4 separate regions of the Homo sapiens genome follow, and regions 1, 3 and 4 are each linked to region 2. Evidence: promoter capture Hi-C in 16 types of primary human blood cells and fetal thymus (Javierre and others, 2016). All regions are on one chromosome and are shown on one strand. Each heading gives the region's core, a stretch centred on a gene start or on the middle of the fragment in contact. The rest is flanking DNA. Distances are from core to core; before and after follow the strand shown.

Evidence for each region. Contacts are between HindIII fragments. The CHiCAGO score rates a contact against its expected background, and 5 or more counts as called.
Region 1: a contact is called between a fragment that was not itself captured here and the fragment with the promoter of BLOC1S4 in region 2, in 1 of 17 cell types (erythroblasts). The highest score is 5.8, in erythroblasts.
Region 3: a contact is called between a fragment that was not itself captured here and the fragment with the promoter of BLOC1S4 in region 2, in 11 of 17 cell types (naive CD8 T cells, non-activated CD4 T cells, fetal thymus and 8 more). The highest score is 13.7, in naive CD8 T cells.
Region 4: a fragment that was not itself captured here is called in contact with the fragment with the promoter of BLOC1S4 in region 2 in 1 of 17 cell types (neutrophils); the score reaches 5.6 in neutrophils.

What each region holds. Positions count from the first base shown.
Region 1 is chr4:6,826,635-6,833,204 of GRCh38, forward strand. The region is part of intron 3 of KIAA0232; the gene reads left to right. Among named protein-coding and RNA genes, the nearest start is that of KIAA0232, 47 kb to the left of the region's middle. The HindIII fragment of the contact is 1,598 bases long and covers 1,449-3,046 here.
Region 2 is chr4:6,713,225-6,719,158 of GRCh38, forward strand. BLOC1S4 (biogenesis of lysosomal organelles complex 1 subunit 4) reads left to right here and starts at 2,950. Exons shown (of 1, transcript NM_018366.3): 1 at 2,950-4,440. The coding sequence starts at 2,986. The coding sequence ends at 3,639. It overlaps LOC105378240 (a long non-coding RNA gene), which reads left to right. Exons shown (of 3, transcript XR_001741568.3): 2 at 587-643; 3 at 800-921. RefSeq lists enhancers at 2,670-2,869, 3,352-3,991 and a silencer at 3,150-3,199. The HindIII fragment of the contact is 17,705 bases long and covers 1-5,934 here.
Region 3 is chr4:6,642,952-6,649,065 of GRCh38, forward strand. No RefSeq gene overlaps it. Among named protein-coding and RNA genes, the nearest start is that of MRFAP1, 5.3 kb to the left of the region's middle. The HindIII fragment of the contact is 1,624 bases long and covers 615-2,238 here.
Region 4 is chr4:6,615,194-6,621,123 of GRCh38, forward strand. It overlaps MAN2B2 (mannosidase alpha class 2B member 2), which reads left to right. Exons shown (of 19, transcript NM_015274.3): 17 at 2,187-2,299; 18 at 4,734-4,851. Among named protein-coding and RNA genes, the nearest start is that of MRFAP1, 23 kb to the right of the region's middle. The HindIII fragment of the contact is 2,854 bases long and covers 1,391-4,244 here.

The sequences.
Region 1 (6,570 bases), core at 998-3,497, 110 kb after region 2:
GCTGGAACCACATGTGTGTGGCACCCCACCCAGCTAATTTTTAAAAAACTATGTCTCTTTCTGTTGCCTAGGCTGGAAAGAATAGTTTTTTAGTAGGACTTGAACTTCTCATTTCTTAAGAGTTGTATGTCAGCTATTTTCAGTCTACAATATTTAATCAACACCAATAAATTTACTAGCACAAAGTATGTGCTGGGTGCTACAGGACATATAGGATAAAACAGGCCAGATGTTAATAAGATTATAGTAATAACATCTCTGATCAGACTTGTGAATCCTCTGGTTTCTTTACTAACTCTAGGGGGTTGTGGTCAGAGATAAGATGAACTATCAGTATCTGCAGCTGTGTTTGATCCTCCCTCCAGAGTTCCGGTTCGTTCCTCAGGACACAGGACAGATAAAGGTTAGGGAAAACATAACATGTCTGGAGTTACAAGGAGAATCCGTAGGGAAATAAAAGGCCCTAAAATATTTTTCTACTTGGTCCAAAGTAACAGCCATGTGTGCCAAGTCCCACGCCAATGAAGAAGGTCAAATTTTAAATACCTGTTTTAGTAAGACATGACTTGAGAATCCTTTATCCCCTGCATTGCTTTTCCGTGAAGTTACAGTCCCTTGTTAAAGGTGGCAAAAGCCAGATGCCTGACTCAAAGGGAGGATGTACTTACGGTTTCCCCAGGCAGAGAGGATGCGGAAGACAAGGATGGTTCTCTTCTAGCAAGAGTAAGGAGAGTGGAAGGGGCCTTAGCTTCTGTCATCAGAACTCCAGCTAACAGCAAGGCTGACAGACCTGGGTGAAGATGTGTGCCACCTTTCCTGATCTCTGGCTCATGCCTGTGATAACGCAGCCCCTCGAGTGGAGGCCAAACCACTGTACTCCTGGGTGTTCATTTCCTCACATCTTCGCTCACCCCTTAGTCCTTGAGTTAGTCTAGCCATGAGCGGCCAGTTTGAAGACCCATCACTTTTCTGTTTTAGGCTAAAGCAAACACGCAGTGCTCTTGAGTTCTAAAACAGATTTTATGCATCAGTTTGGTCTCAGTTGTGCAGGATAAGGAAGTAAAGCTGATCAGATCCTAGTCTTGTTTAAGGCTGAATCATCTATAAACCTCTAATTTGGGCAGGGTTATAAACACATTTGTGGTGGTGGGCTGGTTACAATGTAGTTCCAGAGAACCACTGCCTTGTAATATGGAGATACGGTCACTGTGCCAGTAGTTTTATTTCCATAAATGTTTCTTCTTTCTTTTTTTTTTGGTCATGATTACTCTGTCTGGGAAGTATATTCTAAGATAATCAGGAAATCACTACATATCACTTTTATTTTATATAAACTGCTTTTCTCACCCATCTTTCAAAGCGTAGGTCACCTCTGTCTCTGAAACTTTTTCTGATAATTTCTGATGAAAGCAATGTCTTCTACCAAACTTGGTAATATTTTACTGTAAAGCTTTTCATTATCGTTACTGGAATGTATTCTGTTTCTCAGTAGGTTATAACATCCTTATGGGCAGAAATCATATATTAATCTTTTTTAAAAAAGTTTAACCAGCCTGGGCAACATAGTGAGACTCCATCTCTTAAAAAAAATTATCTGGATGCAGTGGGGTTTACCTGTAGTCCCAGCAACTTGGGAAGCTGAGGTAGGAGGATCGCTTGAGCCTGGGGGGTGGAGGCTGCAGTGAGCAGCGATCATGACGCTGCACTCCAGCCTTGGAAACACAGCGAGACCCTGTCTCTTAAAAAATAAATAAATTTAACTTTTTAAAATGAAATAATTTCAGACCTCACTAACAGCTAGGATAGTACAGGGAGCTCTCATGTTTTCTTCAGTCATCAATTGTTAGTATTTTCACACATTTGCTTTCTTTTATTGATATATAATAGTTGTACATATTTGTGGGTATTATGATTTTTGATACATGAATATAAGATGTTATCAAATCAGGGTATTTGAGTTACCTGTCTCCTTAAACATTTATCTTTTCTTTGTGTTGGAAATAGTCCAATTCTTTTCTCGCTATTTTGAAATATACAATAAATATTATTAGCTGTAGTCTCCCTACCATACTGTTGAATACTCGAAGTGACTCGTTGTTTACGTGTATGTTTGTACCCTTTAGCCCACTTTTCTTCATCTTCTACTTTTGCTTTATTTCTGTCTTCTCTTCATGCTGACCTCTCTGAGTAAACTAGCATGTACTTTTTAAGATCAAAGACTTTCCCTTAGTCATATTACAATTACAAAATTCAGGAAAATTAGCATTGATGAAACTTTATTGTCAGATATACAGTCAATATTCAGTTTTTGTCACCTGTCCCGATATTGTTTCTCATTGCAGTTTTCTCCCTCATCTAGTATCTAGTTTGAGATTATGCATCGACTTTAATGGCCACATCTCCTTAATCTCCTTTCATCTGTAATAATTCCTTGTTTTTCCCTGGCATCTCATGACATGGACACTTTTGGAGAGTCCAGGCCAGTTTTGCAAAACATCCCTTAATTTGGGTTTTTCGGATATTTCCTCGTATCTTTAGAGTTGGCTTGTGCATTTATGGTAGTAGCATTGCATAATGATGTTTTCTTTTTTTCTGCATATCACATTAGAGGGCCAGTGACGACAGTCTTTATCATTCTTGGAGACGCTGACTTGGTTTATCATGGTTCAGATGGTGTCTGCCAGGTTTCTCCTTGTAATGAATAAGCGATCTGTGCAGGGAGACTTTGATACTTTTACCATCCATTGATGTTCCTTGCCTGAATCAGTTATTAGTTGGGTGGTTGAAAAGTGGTGATTTTCCTAACTCAGTGATCCCCTCTACATTTAGTAGTTGACATTTTACTACAGTGCCTTCCATCTTTTAAAAATCAGTAGCCTGGTCACATAAGGAACATCACAGCATGTAAGATGCAGCACCAGCCACTTAATATGTAAGGATTGCCTTATTCAGTCTGCAAGCCAAACCTCGAAAGTAAGTATTAAGCTCCCACAGCCTGAAAGTGAATGGCATGGCAGTGTGCATTGACTGGTGACCTGGAACATTAAGCTTAGATCCTGTACATCTTACAACACATTTGTTACATTAGTTTAAAACATTTTACAGTCTTACTCAAAAAATGACTAAAAGGAGAACTTCAGTAACATTATAACTTAAAATGGGAGTTAACTTTTCCTGCCCAGAAGTTGTGCTAGACTGATAGTTGACAGTAGGTCTCCCCATGATCTGTCACAGGTGGGAAGGGATGCACTAGCAGATGAGGGTGTGTTTCAGTATTGTTCTTATAACCCCAAATATGCTTTCGTTTCCTTTATAGCTAATTAAACTACCATTGAGAGTTTATTAAAACTTTTCTTGTTATACATTGATGTTCTCAGCATAATGCATTCTTTGTTTATTATTCTTATTAGGAGTCTGTGATGATAACAGAAAACCCAGCTCAATCTGGCTTAAACAGAAGTAATAGTAAAAGCAAACACATATGTATCATGTGCTGTGTGCCAGCCACTGTTGAAGGCACTCATTTTCCATTCACGGTAACTCATTTAATCTTCCTTACACCATCCTGTTATTATTTGTATTTCATAAGTGGAGATAGTGACAGTGGTTAAATAGCTTGCCCAAGGCCACACAGCTAGTAAATTTTGGAGCATTTACTGGTTTAAAAAACTTGAAATATCTGGGAATTAGGGCTGACCCCAGTGGCAACTTGATCCAGGGCCTACAGTAAAATCAGTGCCCCGTCTTTTAGCTTGCCTTCTCTGTTGTCTTTTTTTTTTTTTTTTTTTTTTTGAGATGGAGCACTCACTGTGTTGCCCAGGCTAGAGTGCAGGGGCGATCTCAGCTCACTGCAGCCTCTGCCTCCTGGGTTCAAGTGATTCTCCTGCCTTAGGCTCCTGAGTAGCTAGATTACAGGCGTGCATTACCATGCCTGGGTAATTTTTATATTTTTAGTAGACACAGGGTTTCACCATGTTGGCCAGGCTGGTCTCGAACTCCTGGCCTCAAGTGATCCACCCACCTTGGCCTCCCAAAGTGCTGGGATTATAGGTGTGAGCTGCCATGCCCGGCCTGTTTTCTTTATTCTCAAGCTTCACCCCTACCCTGCCCGCTGTAAGCTCAGACTTACACCCTTTTTTGTGTATGTGTGTCCAGCAGAAAGAGCAGGCTTCTCATCCTAATAGGTCATCTTTGCTATGGAACTGTTCCTGACCTGATCACTGCAGTGACAAGACTTGGGTGGCTAGGGTACAAGCACCTGGAACCACAAGGACTAAGAATTGGAGAGGATGATTCTCCAAGGGAAATATGGAATGAGTAAGTAGGGTGCTGAACCACCCCAAAAAAGTCCTGTCTAACTACCTTTGTACAAAGTAGTGCTTTCTTTCTCTTTTTTTTTATTTTTTATTTTTTAAAATTTATTTATTTATTATTTTTTTGAGACGGAGTCTCGCCCTGTCGCCCAGGCTGGAATGCAGTGGTGCGACCTCGGCTCACTGCAACCTCCACCTCCCAGGTTCAAGCGATTCTCCTGCCCCAGCCTCCCAAGTAGCTGGGATTACAGGTGCGCGCCACCACGCCCAGCTAATTTTTGTATTTTTAGTGGAGACAGGGTTTCACTATGTTGGTCAGGCTGGTCTCGAAGTCTTGACCTCGTGATCCGCCCGCCTCGGCCTCCCAAAGCGCTGGGATTACAGGCGTGAGCCACCACACCTGGCCGATTTTGTTGTCTTTTTCTAGAAGTTTTTTCTTTGCAGACCACCTCCAAAAGTATCCTTTCGTGATGGCCCCTCCATCTGAGTGATGGCTTTAGGTGGTGTTGGATGGTTAGATTTCTTTTTTTAGATCTTAGGACTCCCAGAACTTTACTAACTGTTCCATATAGAGAACAACCATGGATTCTGTACAAGAATAAGAGGTTTTTTTCCCTAAACTTTTTATTGAGGCATAAAATGCATACAGAAAAATGTACAACTTGATGAATTTTCACAAAGATCATATCCCTGTAACTATAGCCACACACAGAAATGGAAGATTACTGGCAACCCAGAAGCCCCCCTCGTGTCCCACACAGCTTTAGAGTTCCTCACATGCTCAGAGGGGAGGCCAGCAGAGTGCCCTCTGCTTCCAACCCCTTCCTCTTGCTTGGACCTTGGCATCTGTATCTCAGGTGTTCTCCCTCTGGCCCTAAGAGTTCACTCCAAGTTCTGCTGCTTTCTTTGCCTCTTCAAAGGGCCACCTTTTTCTCAGCCTCTTGTCCCGGACCTAGGTCAGCATATTTCCCCAGGAAGGAAGCAGCTGCAGATGTCAGTGCCCTATGCCCACACCTACCTTTCCCTTGGCACTCACTGTCTTCTCAATGCCTGGCACCTCAGCAGGGCTCTGATGCCCTGCAGAAGGTGATGTAGGTTTGGTTTGTCTTTGTGTCGTTATTGGCTTTTCTAGTTAATCTAGGCAAGAGAGTTGTGCTGCCACCAATTACTTTTTAAAAGAGAGTATTTATTTGTTTAATGGCATAGTTTGGTTTTGATATATATTTTGTCTTATCCTCAGTCTTTCCCTGACCCACTGTATTTAAAATAGAAGCCTCCCATTCTCAGCCCTCTTACCTAATTTATTTTTCTTCATGACATTTTTTATTACCTGAAATTATATGATTACTTGTGATTTAATTATGTCTCCCCTACTGGCATATGTAATTCATGAAGTTGGGGCCTTTTTTTTTTTTTTTGGAGAGGGACTCTTGCTGTGTTGCCTAGGCTGGAGTGTAGTGGCGTGATCTCGGCTCACTGCAACCTCCACCTCCCAGGTTCAAGCGATTCTCCTGCCTCAGCCACCCGAGTAGCTGGCATTACAGGCGCCCACCACCACACCTGGCTAATTTTTGTATTTTTAGTAGAGATGGGGTTTCACCATGTGGGCCAGGCTGGTCTCGAGCTCCTGACCTCAAGTGATCTGCCTGCCTTGGCCTCCCAAAGTGCTGGGATTACAGAAGTGAACCACCACGCCCAGCCAGAGTTGGGGACCTTTTCTGCTATGTTTTCTGTTGGATTCCCAGCCCTTAAAACAGTTCCTGGAATATACAAGAGGCTCAGATACGTATTAGACAAATGGATAGCCACATGTTTCTTTCTCAGGTCTGTGACTTGTGTGTAGGAGGGAAGCATGCTAGGAGTGGGTGTAGACCCCATAATCACACACTGGGGCCTGCCCTGCAGAGAAGTTACTGTTGCTTGTTTTAAATCCCCTAATCAAATTGTATCTACTAGCTCAGAGTCCATCCTTCTAGAAATGTAACTGGATTATTACATTATCTGTATTTGCCCACAGGTTGTATAAATAATAATCCCAGTCCTGAGTGCTAGGTGAGACTCATCCCTTCTTCATTCAACAGACCTTATTTGCTCCTTCAGCCTATTTGTAACATACTCCTGTAGCGTGTCCCGTTCAGCATTACGCTTCTTGAAAAGCTAGCATCTGCGGTGTTTCCTGTTACAGTTTATTAGAATCTTTAACAATAGGAACTGTAAAAGTCTGACCATAAAGCGCTCCTCGTGTGTGTCACTGCAT
Region 2 (5,934 bases), core at 1,700-4,199:
GGGATGGCGCTAAACCATTCATGAGAAATCTGTCCCCATGACCCAGTCACCTCCCACCAGGCTCCAGCTCCAACACTGGAGATTACATTTCAACATGAGATTTGGGCAGGACATCCAAACCCTATCAATCACCTTCTGGGGTAGAATTTAAATATATGAATTTGGATGTGAGGACACAAATATTCAGACCATAGCATTATCTTATGTCATTTCAGTTTAGTATCTTACATGAGGTTGCAGTCAACCTATCAGCTGGGGCTGCAGTCATTTCTGAGTTTGAATGAGGATGGAGCATCCCCTTCCAGGATGACTTACTCATGTAGTTGTTGGAAAGAGGCTGTTTTTCCCTAGCTGTTGGTCTCAGTTCTTTGCTATATGGGCTTCTCCATGGAGCTGCTCACAACAAGGCAGCTGGTTTCCCCAGAGCAAGTGGTTTGTGAACCCCCAATATCTGAGACAGGTCTCAGTTCATTTAGAAAGTTTATTTTGCCGAGGTTGAGGATGTGTGCCCGTGACACAGCCTCAGGAGGTCCTGATGACATGTGTCCAAGGTGGTCAGAGCACAGCTTGGTTTTATACATTTTAGGGAGACATGAGACATCGATCAACATATCTAAGATGAACGATGGATTGGTCCGGAAAGGTGAGACAACTCAAAGCAAAGGCAGGACAACTTGAAGCGGGGAGGGGGCTTCCAGGTCTTGGGTAGATGAGAGAAAAATGGTTGCATTCTATTGAGTTTCTTTTTTTCTTTCTTTCTTTTAAAATTTTATTTATTTATTTATTTATTTATTTTGAGATGGAGTCTCACCCTGTCGCCCAGGCTGGAGAGCAGTGGCGTGATCTCGGCTCACTGCAACCTGCGCCTCCCAGGTCCAAGCAATTCTTCTGCCTCAGTCTCCCAAGTAGCTGGGATTACAGGTGTGTACGACCACAACCGGCTAATTTTTGTATTTTTAAAAGAGGGTTTCACCATGTTGGCCAGGCTGGTCTTGTACTCGTGATCTCAAATGATCCACCCACCTCAGCCTCCCAAAGTGCTGGGATTACAGGCGTAAGCCACCGCGCCCAGACATTTTGAGTCTCTGATTAGCCTCTCCAAAGGTGGCAATCAGATACGCATTTATCTCAGTGAGCGGAGAAGTGACTGTGAATAGAATGTGAGGCAGGTTTGCCCTAAGCAGTTTCCAACTTGACTTTTCTTTTAGCTTAGTAATTGTAGGACCCCAAGATTTATCTTCCTTTCGCAGGTTGGAAGGAAAGAGATGCCACACTACCTTTCATGAACTAATGTCCAAATCATACATCATCACTTCTGTGTTTTTCAGTTTATTATGAGCAAATGAAGTCACTAAGTCCAGTACATACTCGACAAGAGGGAATACACAAGAGTGAGAATACCAGGAGTAAGAAATCACTGGGAGTCATCTTGAAGGCTGGCTAGCAATCACAGTTTGCCCCCTGACTACCAATTCTTCATGCCATTTTAACGTGCTAACCACACTCCCCTCTATCCAAGGTCCCCAAAAGTTACATTTTTTTAAATCTCATGTAGTTTTAGGTATTACTATCCTATTGTCACATCAGCTTTAAGTCCAGAATTTTGTCTTCTCAATAAGATCAGATGTAGATGAGGCTTTCTGAGCTTAGTTCCTTAAATTCAGCTCCTAGAGTACAATTCTTCTTGATCTGTAGACTTTTGAAACTAAGGAGACAAGTTCTCTGCCCCCATGCCTGGAATATACAGTTGTGGGGCTGGCACAGGATAATCACTACAGACCTGTTCTGCTCCACTACGACTAGATTAGCCACTGCCACTCCTGTTCAAAAAGGGGGAAATTGGAAGTACAAACAAGTTGCCAGCCCACAGTAACTCTGCCATCCAGTCTCAAGGTCTAGGACTCCATGACTCCCAGTTCCACCATCTGGGCTCCTGGTTTCATGCCCTGAGTTATACTTCCTTTTTTGTGAAATGTGGCATGTGTTTGCCAATGAGTCTTTTTCTCAGTCTGATTCCTGCTTGTACAAGTTTGGGGAGAGGGGATCCAAAGGCCTGTTCCTTTCAGTCCAATCTGCAATGTTTGTGTCAATATAATTATCTTTAAAAAACTTTATAGGTCTCCTGTGAATCTCATCGGGGTTCACTCCGTTAAACAAAAGTGCTACCTACAAATCCCTTTGAGATAAGTCCATCTCTATCTTGGGCTTCTGCTAATACTGACGAACAAGCCTTAAGCCTTCTGGAGGCCTTGTGGTTTGACTGATGGACTCTGTGAGCCACACCATTAATCTCTTTAAGGAGCTGTTAGTCTAACTGAATGGTATTCTCAGGCACCGTCTTTGCTTTTTTTTTTGAGATTTTAAAGGATTTAACCGTCACATCTCAACTTCACCTTTGTTTTTTTCTGGCAGTACCCTGGATTTGATATTTGCTTGGAAACTATTACTATTTCTTAGTTTTACGCCATTTGCAATCAGGCGAAGCTGAGGACTTTAAAAATCATCCAAAGTCGTCAAGGTCCATCCCTTTTGTGTTTCGTCTTGCTTATCTCATTTATTTTACTATAAACAGCAAAAAGAAATGAAGGACAGGAGGGAGACGTTCATGGGTGCTGGACATGTCCTACCTGTTGGTCTGGATAGAAGATGCATGGTTGTATGGATGTGTACAAAGTCATCAATGTGCACACTTAAAATGTATGCACTGTATTGTATTCCTGCTATACCTTCGCTTAAAAAAGAAAAAAAAGGTTGAATGTGAGTTCGGGCGTGAGAAAACAGCAGCGCGCATGCGTGAGCGTGAGCGCGCATGCGTGAGCGTGAGCGCGCTGGGAGGCCGGAAACAAAGGTGGATGCGCGTGAACAGACGCCCTCGCAGGCCGCCGGAAGCAAAGGCGTGAGCGCGCGTGCGTGCGTGTGCGGGTGCGTGAGCGTGAGCGCGCGGAGGCCGGAAGCGAGCGCTGCGCAGTCGGGTGGTCGCGGGCCATGGAGGGTAGCTTTTCGGATGGCGGAGCGCTGCCGGAGGGGCTCGCGGAAGAGGCCGAGCCGCAGGGCGCCGCCTGGAGCGGGGACAGTGGCACTGTTTCCCAGAGCCACAGCAGCGCCTCGGGGCCGTGGGAGGACGAGGGCGCGGAGGACGGCGCGCCGGGCCGCGACCTGCCGCTGCTTCGCCGCGCCGCTGCGGGCTACGCCGCCTGCCTGCTGCCCGGGGCCGGGGCGCGGCCCGAGGTCGAGGCCCTGGACGCGAGCCTAGAGGACCTGCTTACCAGAGTGGACGAGTTCGTGGGCATGCTGGACATGCTTCGCGGCGACTCGTCCCACGTCGTCAGCGAGGGCGTGCCGCGCATCCACGCGAAGGCCGCCGAGATGCGGCGCATCTACAGCAGGATCGACCGGCTGGAGGCCTTCGTGAGGATGGTGGGGGGCCGCGTGGCCAGGATGGAGGAGCAGGTCACCAAGGCCGAGGCCGAGCTGGGCACCTTCCCCAGGGCGTTCAAGAAGCTCCTGCACACGATGAACGTGCCCTCGCTCTTTAGCAAGTCTGCTCCCTCGAGGCCACAGCAAGCCGGCTACGAAGCCCCCGTCCTGTTTCGGACCGAAGACTACTTCCCTTGTTGCAGTGAAAGGCCTCAGCTCTGACGGCCTGACCACTGCGGCAAGAGGACCCCAGCTGGGGTGCTTACCTCCAGTATGAAGTGAATTGCAAATCCTGCTTATGGACATATATGATGTTGGAGTGTGGGATTTTAAAGTTTACTTTCTACAAACTCTCCGTAGTATATTCATGATTCAGTGTAGAATGTATAGACTTTATGTCTTCCAAGTTTAAAAAAAGAGACAGGGTCTTGGTATGTTGCCCAGACTGTTCGGAAACTCCTGGGCTCAAGTGATCCTTCCACCTCAGCCTCCCCAGTAGCTGGGACTACGGGGTCGCCACTGCACCCAGCCTGTGTCTTCCAGCTCTAATCAGAAAGCTGCTTGTCGAGGGCATGGGGAATCAAACTGAATGAACTTTTCTCTGCACTGTGGCAAAACTGTTATTTTTATGGATTTTACTAAATGGCGTTACCTTTTCAAGATTTATATGTTTGTATAATCATAAGAAAATTGAGCCATTAAAGCCTTGTTATTCAATCCTAATAGTCAGTTTTCTAGAACCTACTTTTAGGGTAAATGGTACATTATTTAATATTATATTAAACCTCCTATAGCGTGGATTGTAGACCAAAGGAAATGGTACAATTTCTGAGAATATATGTTGATTTTTTGTGACTAATTCCAAAGTTGTATTTGAAAGTATGACCTCACAGTCTTCATTTGTCCATAGCAAACATATGTGTGTGTGTGTGTATATATATATGTGGGTTGCCAATGTTTGGTTTATAATTTAAATGTTAATAGAAATTTTGAGTTTTATTGGAAATGATTTCCTTCTGAAAAGAGCTTTACGTATTTCCTTGTGTGTGTTTGAAATAGACGTACTGCTCATGTGCTTTTTTAGTAGTGGGATAAAGAAAAGGGGCTTGAGTATACCTCCTTTAGAGAGCTAATGTGAAAAGCTGTAGCTTCTATTTCAGAGCATGGTATATTTCTTTTCTTTTTTTTTTTTTTTTTTTTTTTTGAGACGGAGTCATGCTCTGTCGCCCAGGCTGGAGTGCAGTGGCGCAATCTCGGCCCACTGCAAGCTCCGCCTCCCGCGTTCACGCCATTCTCCTGCCTCAGCCTCCTGAGTAGCTGGGACTACAGGCGCCTGCCACCATGCCCGGCTAATTTTTTTTGTATTTTGTATTTTTTTTTAGTAGAGACGGGTTTTCACTGTGTTAGCCAGGATGGTCTCGATCCCCTGACCTCGTGATCCACCTGCCTCGGCCTCCCAAAGTGCTGAGATTACAGGCGTGAGCCACCGCGCCCGTCCAGAGCATGGTATATTTCTTTCCTCTCGAAATGGATAGTTAAATTATTTGTGTGAGTGAATGGTATTAGGATTTTCCTGCGGATACAGTAGACTTTTATTGAGATTCAAATCTATTTTATAAGGTGGCCCTCCTAAATAGTAGATGCTAAAAAAGCATACAGCTTAGGTTGCTTTTGTGTCATTTGCAGTGTCATCAAAGATCTTTGAGGTTCATAGAGTAGCTGTATTTTCATTTAGCTGTGTGTTGTGAAGAATCTGATCATGTAATCTTGCACCTAGCTTTCGTGGACCTTCATTGTCACATATTTACGTTTTTTATTCAGGTGGTTCATTGACGACAAATTAAGGAACTCTGAATGTAGAAGCTGAAAGAACAAGTAACCTACATTTAATATTCAGCAACTGCTGGTACCCCTATAAGTAATTCATGTGTTTCGATGACATAGTCACTGAATATGAAAATATCCTTACATAACAAAACATTGCTAAAAGATTTTTCACTTAAAGTTAACATTCAAAAGCAGTAATTAGGGGCCGGGCGCGGTAGTTCACAAGCACTTTGAGAGGCTGAGGCAGGCGGATCACAAGGTCAGGAGATCGAGACCATCCTGGCTAACATGGTGAAACCCTGTCTACTAAAAATACAAAAAAAAAAAAAAAAAATTAGCCAGGCATGGTGGTGGGCGCCTGTGGTCCCAGCTACTCAGGAGGCTGTGGCGGGAAAATGGTGTGAACCCGGGAGTCGGAGCGGAGATGACGCCACTGCACTCCAGCCGGGGCGACAGAGCAAGACTCTGTCTGAAAAAAAAGAAAAAAGAACTAATATCCACCTATCCACCTTGGCACTCCCACAATGCATATTCCCAGTGCTCTGTCCATCCCCACTGCTACCCAACCCATCCAAGCCACTGGCATCTCTCCTGGGCCACTCAACAGCCTCTTAAGTGGTCTCCTGCTTCCCCTTCCCCGCTCCAAGCCACTCCCGCATGTAACACATCAGCCAAAGGGGTCTTTAAACA
Region 3 (6,114 bases), core at 177-2,676, 72 kb before region 2:
TGGTCCAGGCCTCTGCCTTCAGAGAGCCAAAGCACCTTCAGTCTTTCCAATTGGAACATTGTTTTCTAGGCCTTGCACTGGGAATATAGCGATTACAGTTGCAGGGTGAGGGATGACATAGAGGAGATGTGATACCCCACCCTCCTTCCAGATTGAAGCCTTTCTGCCTCAGCTGCTAGAAGTGTTGCTGACAAACACCCTTCAGCTGGTTAGCCCTCTGGGCAGTGCCTTTTCAGAGGAGAGCTGCGTTAGCCAAAGTCATGCCCTTTTCCCTGGGTAGCCTACATCTAGTGAGTAATGGGCTGGAAATCTCAGGTCGCTATTTCTCTTACCCCAATTTGGGACAACTTTGAGGGACATGGTGGCTTCTGAGCTTGTGGGGTCTGCTGAGGCTTTTGTTAGGATTACATCACGCAGCCCACCTCCTCCCCCGTCCCAGCCTTGCATTCCTCCTCTTCCACAAGTGTTAATCCCTAAAAAACGTGCATCTAGTTTTCATCTTGGAGTCCACTTTCTGGGCAACCTAGTTGGTAGAAATCAAACAAAGCCATGTGTCCCTAGCACTAATAAAGATAGAATGTCCCAGGAGAACACTTGAGGGGGAGGTCTAGGAAAGCTTTCCAGAGCAAGTAACTCTTTCAGAGCTTGGCCTTGAAAGAGGAGCACAGCTTCCGAGGTCAGGAAGAGCAGGAGAGGCATGCTAGGCACAGGAAACAATGGAAGATGTTCAAGGTTTTCTGTGTGAGTTCCACACAGAGGAGGGAGAAGAAATGTATAGGACAGAATTATGAACTGGGAAACAACCACGAAAACTACATTTCGTACATTTGCCAAAACAAGAAATGTAACATTGGTACAACACTACCAACTAGACTTTTCTCTGCTTTCACCAGTTTCCCCACTAAGGCCCTTTTTCTGTTCTGGGATACTACATTGCATCGGGAAGTCGATTGTTTTCAATGAGTAAGATTTATAAATGACACGAAAGTGATCCTTCATCTCTCCCCAGCTTCCCAGTTCCCCTCTCAGGAAACTAGAAGTTTCTTATACATCCTTACAAATACTAATGTGTTTGAACGGCTTCCACTTTTTTTTGTTTTTGGTGAGACAGGGTCTCTGTGTCTCACAGGCTGGAATGCAGTGTTGTGACCACTCACTGCAGCCTTGACTTCCTGGTGTCAGGTGATCCTCCCACCTCAGCCTCCCTGGTAGCTGGGACCAGGCATACACCACCATTTCTGGCTAATTTTTGTATTTTTTTTTTTTTTTTTTTGTGGAGGTGGGGTTTCGCTATTTGTCCAGGCTGGTCTTGAACTCTTGGGCTCAAGTGATCACCTTAGCCTCCTGAGTAACTGGAACACCACCGCGGTTAATTTTTGTATTTTTTGTAGACAGTTGTTTGCCATCTTGGCCATTTTGGTCTCAAATTCCTGAGCTCAAGCCATCCACCCACCTTGGCCTCCCAAAGTGCTAGCAATACAGGCATGAGCCACTGCGCCCAGGCCACCTGTTTGTTTTGTTTTGTTTTTTACATTAATGGTAGCACACTGTATAATCTGTTCGTGTCCTTCATTTGTTTACTTGGAAGTCTTTTCCTATCTAACATCTAAATCTGCATTCTTTTTTTTTTTAAGGCTGCATAGTGTTCATTCTTATGCCAGAGTTTGAAAACTATTGTCCTAAAATCTTTCCAGTAACTCCTTAGTTCCTCTTTTTTATGATTCTGGTCACAACTGCAATGCAGCCACTAATTCCCAATTGCCCCAGCTCCTGAATTTCATACTCCTGGCTTGCTAGCAATTGGAGGAGCAATCCAATCTTGCATTTTCTAAGCAAAGAATGTGGTAAGAAGCATTCTGAGAGACAGTCTTACGTGGCTGTACAGTCATTAAATTTTCTGGCTGGAGTTGCCATATTTATTTATTTGTTTATTTATTTATTGAGACAGGGTCTAACTCTGTTGCCCAGGCTGGAGTGTAGTGGCATGATCTTGGCTCACTGCAACTTCTGCCTCCCAGGGCTCAAGCAATTCTCCTGCCTCAGCCTCCCGCGTAGCTGGGGTTACATGTGGGTGCCACCATGCCCTGCTAATTTTGGCATTTTTAGTAGAGACAGGGTTTCACTATGTTGGCCAGGCTGGTCTTGAATTCCTGGCCTCAAGTGATCCACCTGCCTTGGCCTCCCAAAGTCCTGGTATTACAGGATGGCAGAGCTGGAAATAACCTCAGAGAGCAATGAAGCTTTTCTGGGTTAAAATGTAGAAGTCATTAGTGCTGTTCACCAAATAAATTCCAATTCTCTGCCTTCTAGGCACAGAGTAAGATGGCACTTTCTGGCCCCCTTGGGGTTGGGTGGGCCCACGTGATTAATTCTGGCCGATGAGCTACAAAGGAAACTTACATCTGTTGCATCCAACCCAGAACCTCCAAAGCAACACCCTGCAGAGCTGTCTCTTCCCTCTGGCACAGGAACCAGCAACATTCCAGATGGTGGCTGAGCTTAATGACCACAGTTCCCTACCAATCTATGATGAGTATATACCACAAACAAGGAAAAACCTTAGTTGTTTTAAGCCACTGAGATTTGGGGATTGTTTGTTACAATAACAACTTAGACTAAGATGACTGATACAGATATTCATTATTTCTTCCATTCCTTGTGTTTTGATGAAAGGGTTGTTCTCCCTTCTACCTGAGGCCCGTTGATCACATCCCTCCCACTAGCCCAGGCATTGTCCAACAGGTTATCTTCTGTCTCTGGCTTTCACGTGGAGCTCTTGACTTTCCTCTGCCTTCTAATGACTTCAAGGTGAAAGAAAGCGCTAGTTCAAACTCCTACTCCTGGCCATTCTCCCCCTTCCAGGCAGCAGGTAAACATGGAGTGGCTTGAGTTTCTACCATCTTCCAGAGATAAATGGGGATTTATTACCCTGGTTAACACTGTGGCCAGGTAAATCTACAAAATCCATCCAGTGCCTGCTTCAGTCACTGCCTGATATGGTTTGGCTGTGTCCCCACCCAAATCTCATCTTGTCCTGGGAGTGACCCGGTGGGAGGTCACTGAATCATGGGGTGGTTACCCCCATACTGTTCTTGTGATAGTGAGTTTCCACGAGATCTGATGGTTTTACAAGGGGCTTTTTCCCCTTTGCTCTGCACTTCTCCTTCCTGCCGCCATACGAAGAAGGACAGGTTTGCTTCCCCTTCTGCCATGATTGTAAGTTTCCTGAGGCCTCCCCAGCCATGTGGAACTGGGAGTCAATTAAACCTCTTTCCTTTATAAATTATCAGTCTCGGGTATTTCTTCATAGCAGCATGAGAACAGACTAATACACAGCCCAGCATATGTTAGACCCTCTCTGAGTCAATTCTCTTTTCCCCGTCTCTGATTTCCATAATGTTCTGTGGTACCTATTTACTGGTTTATATCCCCATTGCTTCCTCCTTCAAACTCTATACCATGGTTCACAAAATCCTGCATTCCATTATTCCCAAATTAATCCATATTATTCTTTGCCTCTTCAAAGAACATTTCTTTACCAACTCTTAACAGCTGAAACTAGATTTTCCCCAAGCCCTGGGCTTCCCTGTAGCCTTGTTGGTGATGGTTCCTTACAGCACTTGCCCACTGCCTGGGGCAGATACTGCGTTCATCAGGACTGCATTTTTGCCAGAGAGGAGTGAAAAAAGAAAAAAAGAGCTTAGGGTTTTGACAAGGACATCACTGCAACAATACATGATGTACTCTGAGTGGGGAAGTATGGAGGTGAAGAGCAGGAGAGCAATAGGCGAAAGTAGCTGGTAAAGTGAATGGAGATCCCAGCATGTTAGTGACTACAGTGAAAGTGTCACCTGGAGGATGGGATGTGGCCAGAAAATAGGAGGGCTGATATTGGAAAGCAATTTATCATATTAAAAACTCTGATTGTCAAATAAAATGTATCTGTGGATGACATCCTGCGAGCTACGTGCTTCTGGGGCCTCAGATCAATTCTTGTTTTAACACCTGTGAAGCATTTACTATGTGCCAGTTACCTACAATTCCTCAAAAGCCTTTCACGACCCCTCAGTGGGGCAGATGCCATTATTAAAATTAGTCTCGTCTTATCAATGAGGCACAGAGATATTAAGTAGGCCAGGTCTGAGACAATAACAAGCCCCAAGTCACTCTTGGGAGTGAATGGCCAAGCAGGGTGGAGGAGCTCCTTGGATATGAGGGCCCAGGTGTGGGGCTGGTGGCTGTGTGAGCATGGAATTCGCTCAGGACGATGGCAGGGCTTGGGGTGGAGGGGAAGGCCAGGAGCCAGGTGCCCAAGTTTGCAGTGAATGACGGGACTCCAATGGGGTGAAAAGAGATTGGAGGATGACAGAGGTGAGAAGAGGGAGAGGACAGTCAGATGACCAGGGAGTGCTCCCAAGGAGCACCATTTTGGACAAGAGGGAGGAGAAGTAGAGTGTGGACATGGCCTGGGAGAACACTGCCCCCAAATTCTGATTGACACACGAGGGACATATAGAAATGAGTGGCTTTTCCCTCACAGGCCTGAGGATGAAATAGCACTATTCTCAGGGGTAAGGTCGGGGGAGGGCAGAGCTCCTCCAAGAAGTCAGGCACATGCTGGAGGCCCAGGAACAGGTTTGGGGGTGAAGAGGAGTGGAGAACATCACTGGAAACTTGTCCTAGGCTGAGTTCTCCTTGGTTCATCAATGGGAGAAACAGCAGTGACAGGCTAGTAAGTTTAGTCCTGAATTTAGTCTCTTTGAGGGAGGACAGGCATGGCCTTGGTGTGATCGCTATGGAGGCAAAGATGTGGCAGTTGGAGACTGTCACTCAACTGTGCTTCCTGCAGTAGCTTCTATGAATGAGCTTGGAGAGGCACCACTGCTGGTCATTTGGGGCCTCACAGGAAAGGGGTTCTGCATCCCAAACCCAAAGAGTTACGGGAGATGGCTCCAAAAGAAGCCATCTTACAGGGAAATGAGACTGAGGCCCCAAACCTTTCTCAAGCATCTTCAGTAAAGGTCCTTCCTCAGAAAGTGAGTGCCAGTCACGTGGGCAAACACCAGCTGATGACTGTCACCTTCCTGTCAAGGACACTGGCTCCACAGGGACACCACTGGGAAAGCAGGGGAAGGACAGAGCGCAGTGAGGAAAATGCCGGCATCTTCACAAGATTTGGGCTGTGGCTGCCTGCACATTGGGGCTGGCTGACAGCAAACAGGCAGGAAGCATCTGAGCGGGTCTTGTTTGTGGTGTTTTTTTTGTTTGTTTTTTTTTTTTGAGATGGAGTCTCGCATTGTCGCCCAGGCTGGAGTGCAGTGGCATGATCTCGGCTCACTGCAAGCTCTGCCTCCCGGGTTCACACCGTTCTCCTGCCTCAGCCTCCCGAGTAGCTGGGACTACAGGCAGCCGCCACCACGCCCGGCTAATTTTTTGTAATTTTAGTAGAGAAGGGGTTTCACCATGTTAGCCAAGATGGTCTTGATCTCCTGACCTCGTGATCCGCCTGCCTCGGCCTCCCAAAGTGCTGGGATTACAGGCATGAACCACCGCGCCCGGCCCCCTTGTTTGTGTTTTTATTTCTTGTTTTCCTTTTGTTTTTTTGAGACATGGGGTCTTGCTTTGCCCAAGCTGGAGTGCAGTGGTCTGATCACAGCTCACTGCAGCCTTAACCACCCAGGCTCAAGCGATCCTCCTGCCTCAGCCTCTCCAGTAGCTGGGACCACAGGCATGTACCACCTCACCTGGCTAATTTTTTTATTTTTATTTTTTAGAGAGATACGGTTTCCCTACGTTGCCCAGGCTGGTCTCAGACTCCTGGGCTCAAGCAATCCTCCTGCCTCAGTCTCCCAAAGTCATCCGAAGGTTTTGAAGGAAATATATGGCCAAAGAAATTCCAAGGTGAGTCTGCTAAAACTTGGGGTTGTTCAGCCCCTGAAGGAAGTGCTGAGCCCCAGCACCTGCACCAGCATGAAGAAGGCTTCAGAAACTGCAAAGCCCCTGGAGGGGGCAACCTCTGAGGCACATTTCATACAAGGCCTGAGAAGATAATAGATAATAAAGTCTCCCTGAGGCAAAAGCCAGGGACCTAGAGGGAAGGAGGCAAAATAGTTT
Region 4 (5,930 bases), core at 1,568-4,067, 98 kb before region 2:
AAGACCAGCCTGGGCAGCATAGGAAGATCCTGTGTCTATAAAAATAAAAATAGAAAAGTTCTCTGGTCATGGTGGCGTGTGCCTGAGCCTGCTTTCCCAGGCACCTGCAGCCGCCTTGTGAAATGGGATCCCTCACCATTCCTGCTGTGTGGGACACAGGAGGCCTTCCCTGACTTTGGAGCTGGAACTCCTCACCACCACACCAGGAGATGTAGAAGCACTTTCACAAACCTCTTGGCTTTTGTGATCTTGGGCAGTCATTCCCCTGTGCCATTCTGAAAACCAGCTACCCCATAGCCCCATGATAGCTTCTTAAAAATGGGCCAGGCAAGGTGGCTCACATCTGTAATGCCAGCACTTTGGGAGGCCGAGGTAGCAGGATCACTTCAGGCCAGGAGTTCGAGACCAGCCTGGGCAACATAGCTAGACTCTGTCTCTACAAAAAAAAATTAAAAAATTAGGCGGGTGTGGTGATGCTTGCCTGTGGTCCCAGCTACTCAGGAGGCTGAGGTGAAAGGATCACTTGAGGCCAGGAGTTCAAGGCTGCAGTGAGCTGTAATCATGCTACAGCACTCCAGCCTGGGCAACAGAGCAAGACCCTGTCTCTAAAAAAATTTTTTTTTTCTTTGAGACAGAGTCTCAATCTGTTGCCCAGGCTGGAGTGCAGTGGTGTGATCTTGGCTCACTGCAACCTCCACCACCCAGGTTCAAGCAATTCTCCTACCTCAGCCTCCCGAGTAGCTGGGATTACAGGTGCCCACCACCATGCCCAGCTAATTTTTGTATTTTTAATAGAGACAGGGTTTCACTGTGCTGACCAGGCTGGTCTCAAACTCCTGACAGCAGGCAATCCGCCCTCCTTGGCCTCCCAAAGTGCTGCGATTACAGGTGTGAGCCACCACACCCTGCCAAAATTTTTTTTTTAATACTGATGCCTCAATTCTAATCCCAGACAGATTGATTTAGTCAGCTTTGAGGCATAGCTGCAGAGCTGAGGTTCTACCAGCCAGGGTTTAGGAAGCACCTGTGTTAACCAGGTCCTCTCTCCAGGACCTTGAACTCAGTGCTTTCCTCTGAGCCTCGGTCTTCCCATCTGTAAAACGGGAGCAATGGCAATGAGCCTTTCTGAGTGGGAAGATCAGGGATGGGACAGGAGATCACATACATCATGTGGCAAATGACAGCATTATATCAGTCAGGGTGGCTGGCGTATGCTGCAGTAACAAAGAGCCCCGAATGCCCACGGTCTTAACAGTATATATTCATTTCTCCCCCATGCTGTGCATCCAGTGGGGTTAGCAGGAAGGTTTTTCTTGCTGTGGCCACCACGCCCCCCGCTGATGGAGTTTGTATTGCAGCACGTGCTTCCTCACTCACCATGGCAAGAAAAAGCTTCTGCCGGGAAGTACTGCGTCACTTCAGCTCACTTTGCATTGGCCACAGAGGCCACGCAGCCTCCCCTGACTTCAAAGGGGGCAGGGTAGGAGAGACTGGAGTATTTGAGGACATGCCCCAATATGCCCACAACAGTGGACGAGGATGGAAACATTGCAGCTGGTGTCATGGTGGGCAGCCTTACAGTCGGCCAGACCTGGGTGGGAATCCTCCCTCTGCCGCGCACCAGCTGTATGCCTTGGGCACGTGACTGCCCCTCTCTGAGCCTTGGTTTCCTTGTCGAGTGGGGGCCATGTCAGCTGTCTCACATGGAGTCTATTAGTCTGTTCTCATGCTGCTCATAAAGACATACCCGAGACTGGGTAGTTTATGAAGAAAAAAGGTTTAATGGACTCACAGTTCCACCTGGATAGGGAGGCCTCACAATCATGGCAGAAGGCAAATGAGGAGCAAAGTCACGTCTTACATGGTGGCAGGCAAGAGAGCGTGTGCAGGGGAACTGCCCTTTACAAAATCATCAGGTCTCATGAGACTTATTCACTATCACAAGAACAGCACAGGAAAGACTCACCCCCATGATTCAATTACCTCCCACCAGGTCCCTCCCACAACATGTGGACATTATGGGAGCTACAATTCACGATGAGATTTGGTTGGGGACACAGCCAAACCATATCGAGGAGGTTACAGATAGGAAATGGAGCTGAGTGTGTAAAGCAGCGGGTATAGACCAGGGACATTGGGGTTGGTTGATGAGGGTCTTCACTGCCACCTTCCTTCTGTCCCCAAAGGCCATCGAGGGGAAGCCCAGGCTGACCTCCGCCGTGTCCTGCTGCGGCTCTACCACCTATATGAAGTGGGCGAGGACCCAGTCCTGTCTCAGCCAGTGACAGTGAATCTGGAGGTGAACTTCCCCACCCCCATCCAGACCATAAGCCAGGGAAGCAAACCCTAGATGAAGCCCCAAGAAACTGCCTTGGCAAAGAGATCCACGAGGGCTTCCTCCCAAATGGACGCTGGTATGGGCCCCACCCCGCCCTTCTTCATGGTCTTCTGGGTTTGTCAGGTATTACAACTGGCCTGGTTTTTTAGGGTTTTTTGTGTATATGTGAGACAGGATCTCACTCTGTTGCCCAGTCTGGGGTGCAGTGGCACAATCTCAGCTCACTGCAACCTCTGCCTCCCTGGCTCAAGTGATCCTCCCACCTCAACCTCCCAAGTAACTGGGATCACAGGGGCGCGCCACCACGATGGCTAAGTTTTTTTTTTTTTTTTTGAGACCGAGTTTCGCTCTCGTCCCCCAGGCTGGAGTGCAATGGTGCGCTCTCAGCTGGCTGCAACCTCCATCTCCCAGGTTCAAGTGATTCTCCTGCCTCAGCCTCCCGAGTAGCTGGGATTACAGGCATGTGCCACCACGCCCGGCTAATTTTTTTGTACTTTTAGTAGAGACAGGGTTTCTCCATGTTGGTCAGGCTGGTCACGAACCCCTGACTTCAGGTGATCCACCTGCCTCGGCCTCGCAAAGTGCTGGGATTACAGGCGTGAGCCACCAAGCCTGGCCTAGTTTTTTTATTTTTAGTAGAGACACGGTCTTGCTGTGTTGCTCAGGCTGGTCTCGAACGTCTGGCCTCAAGCAATCTGCCTGTCTTAGCCTCCTGAAGTGCTGGGATTACAGGCGTGAGTGGCCTGTATTTTCTTTCTTATTTATTCTGTGGTAAAACTTTTAAAACACAGACAACATCTGTGTAATCCAAAAACAAAACAGATTCCCCATAGAGTTGCTTTGAAAGGTGACTTAGAGTCAGACAATCCAGGGTCCACACCCAGGCCCCTCTACGGGGGCATCTCCGGCACCCCATGCCTCTGGGCCTCAGTTTCCCCCCATGTAAAATGGGGAGAGGTGAGAGTTCTTTGCCCAGAAGGTTGCTGAGAGGCCCTGGCACTAAGGGGCCTCGTGCAGTGTCAGGGCCCCCAGGCCTCGTCCCCTTCCAGGTTCCCCTCTTGGCTGATGTTGCCCTCTCAGCTCTACTATCAGGCGAGGCTTCCGCCACCTGGCCTGCCCACGCTCCCTCCCCAGAAGGCATGACCTGAGCCGCCTCATTTCTTTCCCAGTTTGCATTCTTTCTATTTCATTTCCTGCTCATGGAGAATTTCTGTGAATCTCTGTGTTTCTGCCTTGGGCCTCCTTCGACATCTGAGTCTTCAGGGGAATCCAGAGAAGCCCCAGTACCTTTTCGCCATGATGTCTTACTGGGCCACCCACCTCCTCTTTCATGATCCTCGCCACGGAGGATCCTTTCCTCACGGTCCCTGGCCTGCCTGAGAGCAGGTCTAGGCCATGGCGGGTACCAGTGCCCAGCACAGGGCCAGCCTGCCCTGGGAAGCAAGGAGGCCAGCGTGGGACCTGGAAGTTGGTCATCTGATGCTCCCCCGTTTCACAGATGGAAGCACCAAGGCCCTGAGACAAGGAGACGGTTGGGATGGACACCATGACTCCCTGCCCAACGTGGACGGTGGTGGGGTGGAAAGACCATTGAGTTAGGAACGCAGTGAGTTTGGCTGCAAGTCACAAAACACCTAACAGATGTGCTTAGAACAGAGGACAGAGTGTTTTCTCACCGAACAGGCATGTCCGATGGACCCCAAGCGCTGTCACCGTGGGCCCGATCACTGTCATCTTCCCGCCATCGCCGGCAGACTGGCTTTTGTCTTTTGCCGTCTGCTTGTTTGCGGTCACAAGATGGCACAGGCCTCCCTCATGAGCAAATTTCAAGGCAGGGTAGGGCTCAGCAGTAGTGGCCAGAAAGGCCTTGCCCTAGCGTGGCTCTCTCCCTCCGTCAGCACACAGAAGCTTCTCCAAGAGCCACCCCCAGCCCTCCTGCTCCACAGACTTTTCCAGACCCCTAAGGGCCTCCTGCCTCCCCTAGGTGTAAGGGAGGCTGGGACAAGGCCTATTGGGAAAGGGGGATGGGGTAACTGTGGCTGGCTTCCTCCCTGGACTGGGCACGGGGCCACCTGAGCAATGTGGGGAGAGGAGAACTCCGCGGTGGGGTGGGCAGCTCAAAATGCCACACCTCCCGGGCTGCTCCTCCAGCTCGGCCACCTGGTAAAGCATGCACCTCCCGCTTCAGTGTCCTCATCTGTAAAGTACACGGCCAGTCCTGTCCTCGCAGATGTGCTGTGAGAAGCAGATGAGGGAGCTGTGTCAGGCACCAGGGGAGGACCTGGGCTCCTGAGGACACCGAGTTCGTGGTGTGTCTGCCCTGCTGCTGTCTTGGTTCTCTGCTCAGCTCTGGAACTTGGTGCAGCTCACTCTCCCTCTGCTCCTCTCCCTGCAGGCTGTGCTGCAGGCGCTGGGGTCCGTGGTGGCAGTGGAGGAGCGCTCGCTCACAGGGACCTGGGATTTGAGCATGCTGCACCGCTGGAGCTGGAGGACGGGGCCTGGCCGCCACAGAGGTTTGGGGACCCCCGCTTCAGCTCCCTACCCAGGACTCCCAGCCAGGCTCAGCAGCTGGTCAGACCCGGTGCACATCCAACCATCTGCCTGTCCCGGCCTGTGCGACCTTGCGAGGCTGCTTTCCTACTCTGAACCCGCAGCCCTCCCAAATCTACTACAGTCGGTTAAGAAAGGCTTTGGGTTAGTCTCTGCCTGCCAGGGCTCCACACAGGCGTGTGTGTGCACTTGTACGTGTGCACACGCAGACCACACGCCCTGCCTGTGCCCTGGGTGACAGCTAGGGGCCCAGGGGCTTCTGCCCACCTTGGCCCTGCTGACCTCAGCCCATCAGCCGGTCCCTGCCTCATACGACATGTGCCACCGTGAGCTCCTGCACTACAGGCAGCTTCCAGGCTCCACTCCCTGTCCGCACCATGCCCTCTGCCTGGGACGCACAGGTCCCATTCACTCTGGCCAGCACCTGCTCAAGCTCCCCAGGATGCCTCCCCAGAGTCACCAACCAGGCCAAGTGCCTCCTCCACTCTCCTGGCCCCAGGGGTTTCTTCTGTCCTGTGCAGCTCGTTGTCCACTACACACAGCATGGTGGCGGGTGCATGGTGCACGCTCAGTTGGTGGTGGGAGGAAGGAAGGGACGGAGGGAGGGAGGGAGGGAAGATGATGTTGGTTGGAAAGAAGGAAGGAAGATGGATGAGTGATAGATAAGTGGACGGCTCCCTCCCAAGATCGAAGCCCAACCCCAGGGCATGCCTTCAGGGGAGCCTGGTGAGGCAAGGGCAGACTCACCAGATGGTCTCAGAAAGCTCTTGGGCTTTGAGGGCAACACCCATGAGGAATTGAGGCCACTAGGGCCAGGACCAACCTATGAATTGCCCTCAGGGTGGGCAGAAACGCCAAGAGGCCCACAGGAGTCCTGGCAGAAGGGGATGCCATAGGCCGTTGCCACGGTGGGAGCCACAGCAGACTGTAGCCAGGTGCAGTGTGGTGAGAAGGAGGCTGGGAGCCACAGCAGATTGTAGACAGGTGCAGGAGGGTGAGAGGGAGGCTGGGAGCCACAGCAGACTGTAGACAGGTGCAGGGG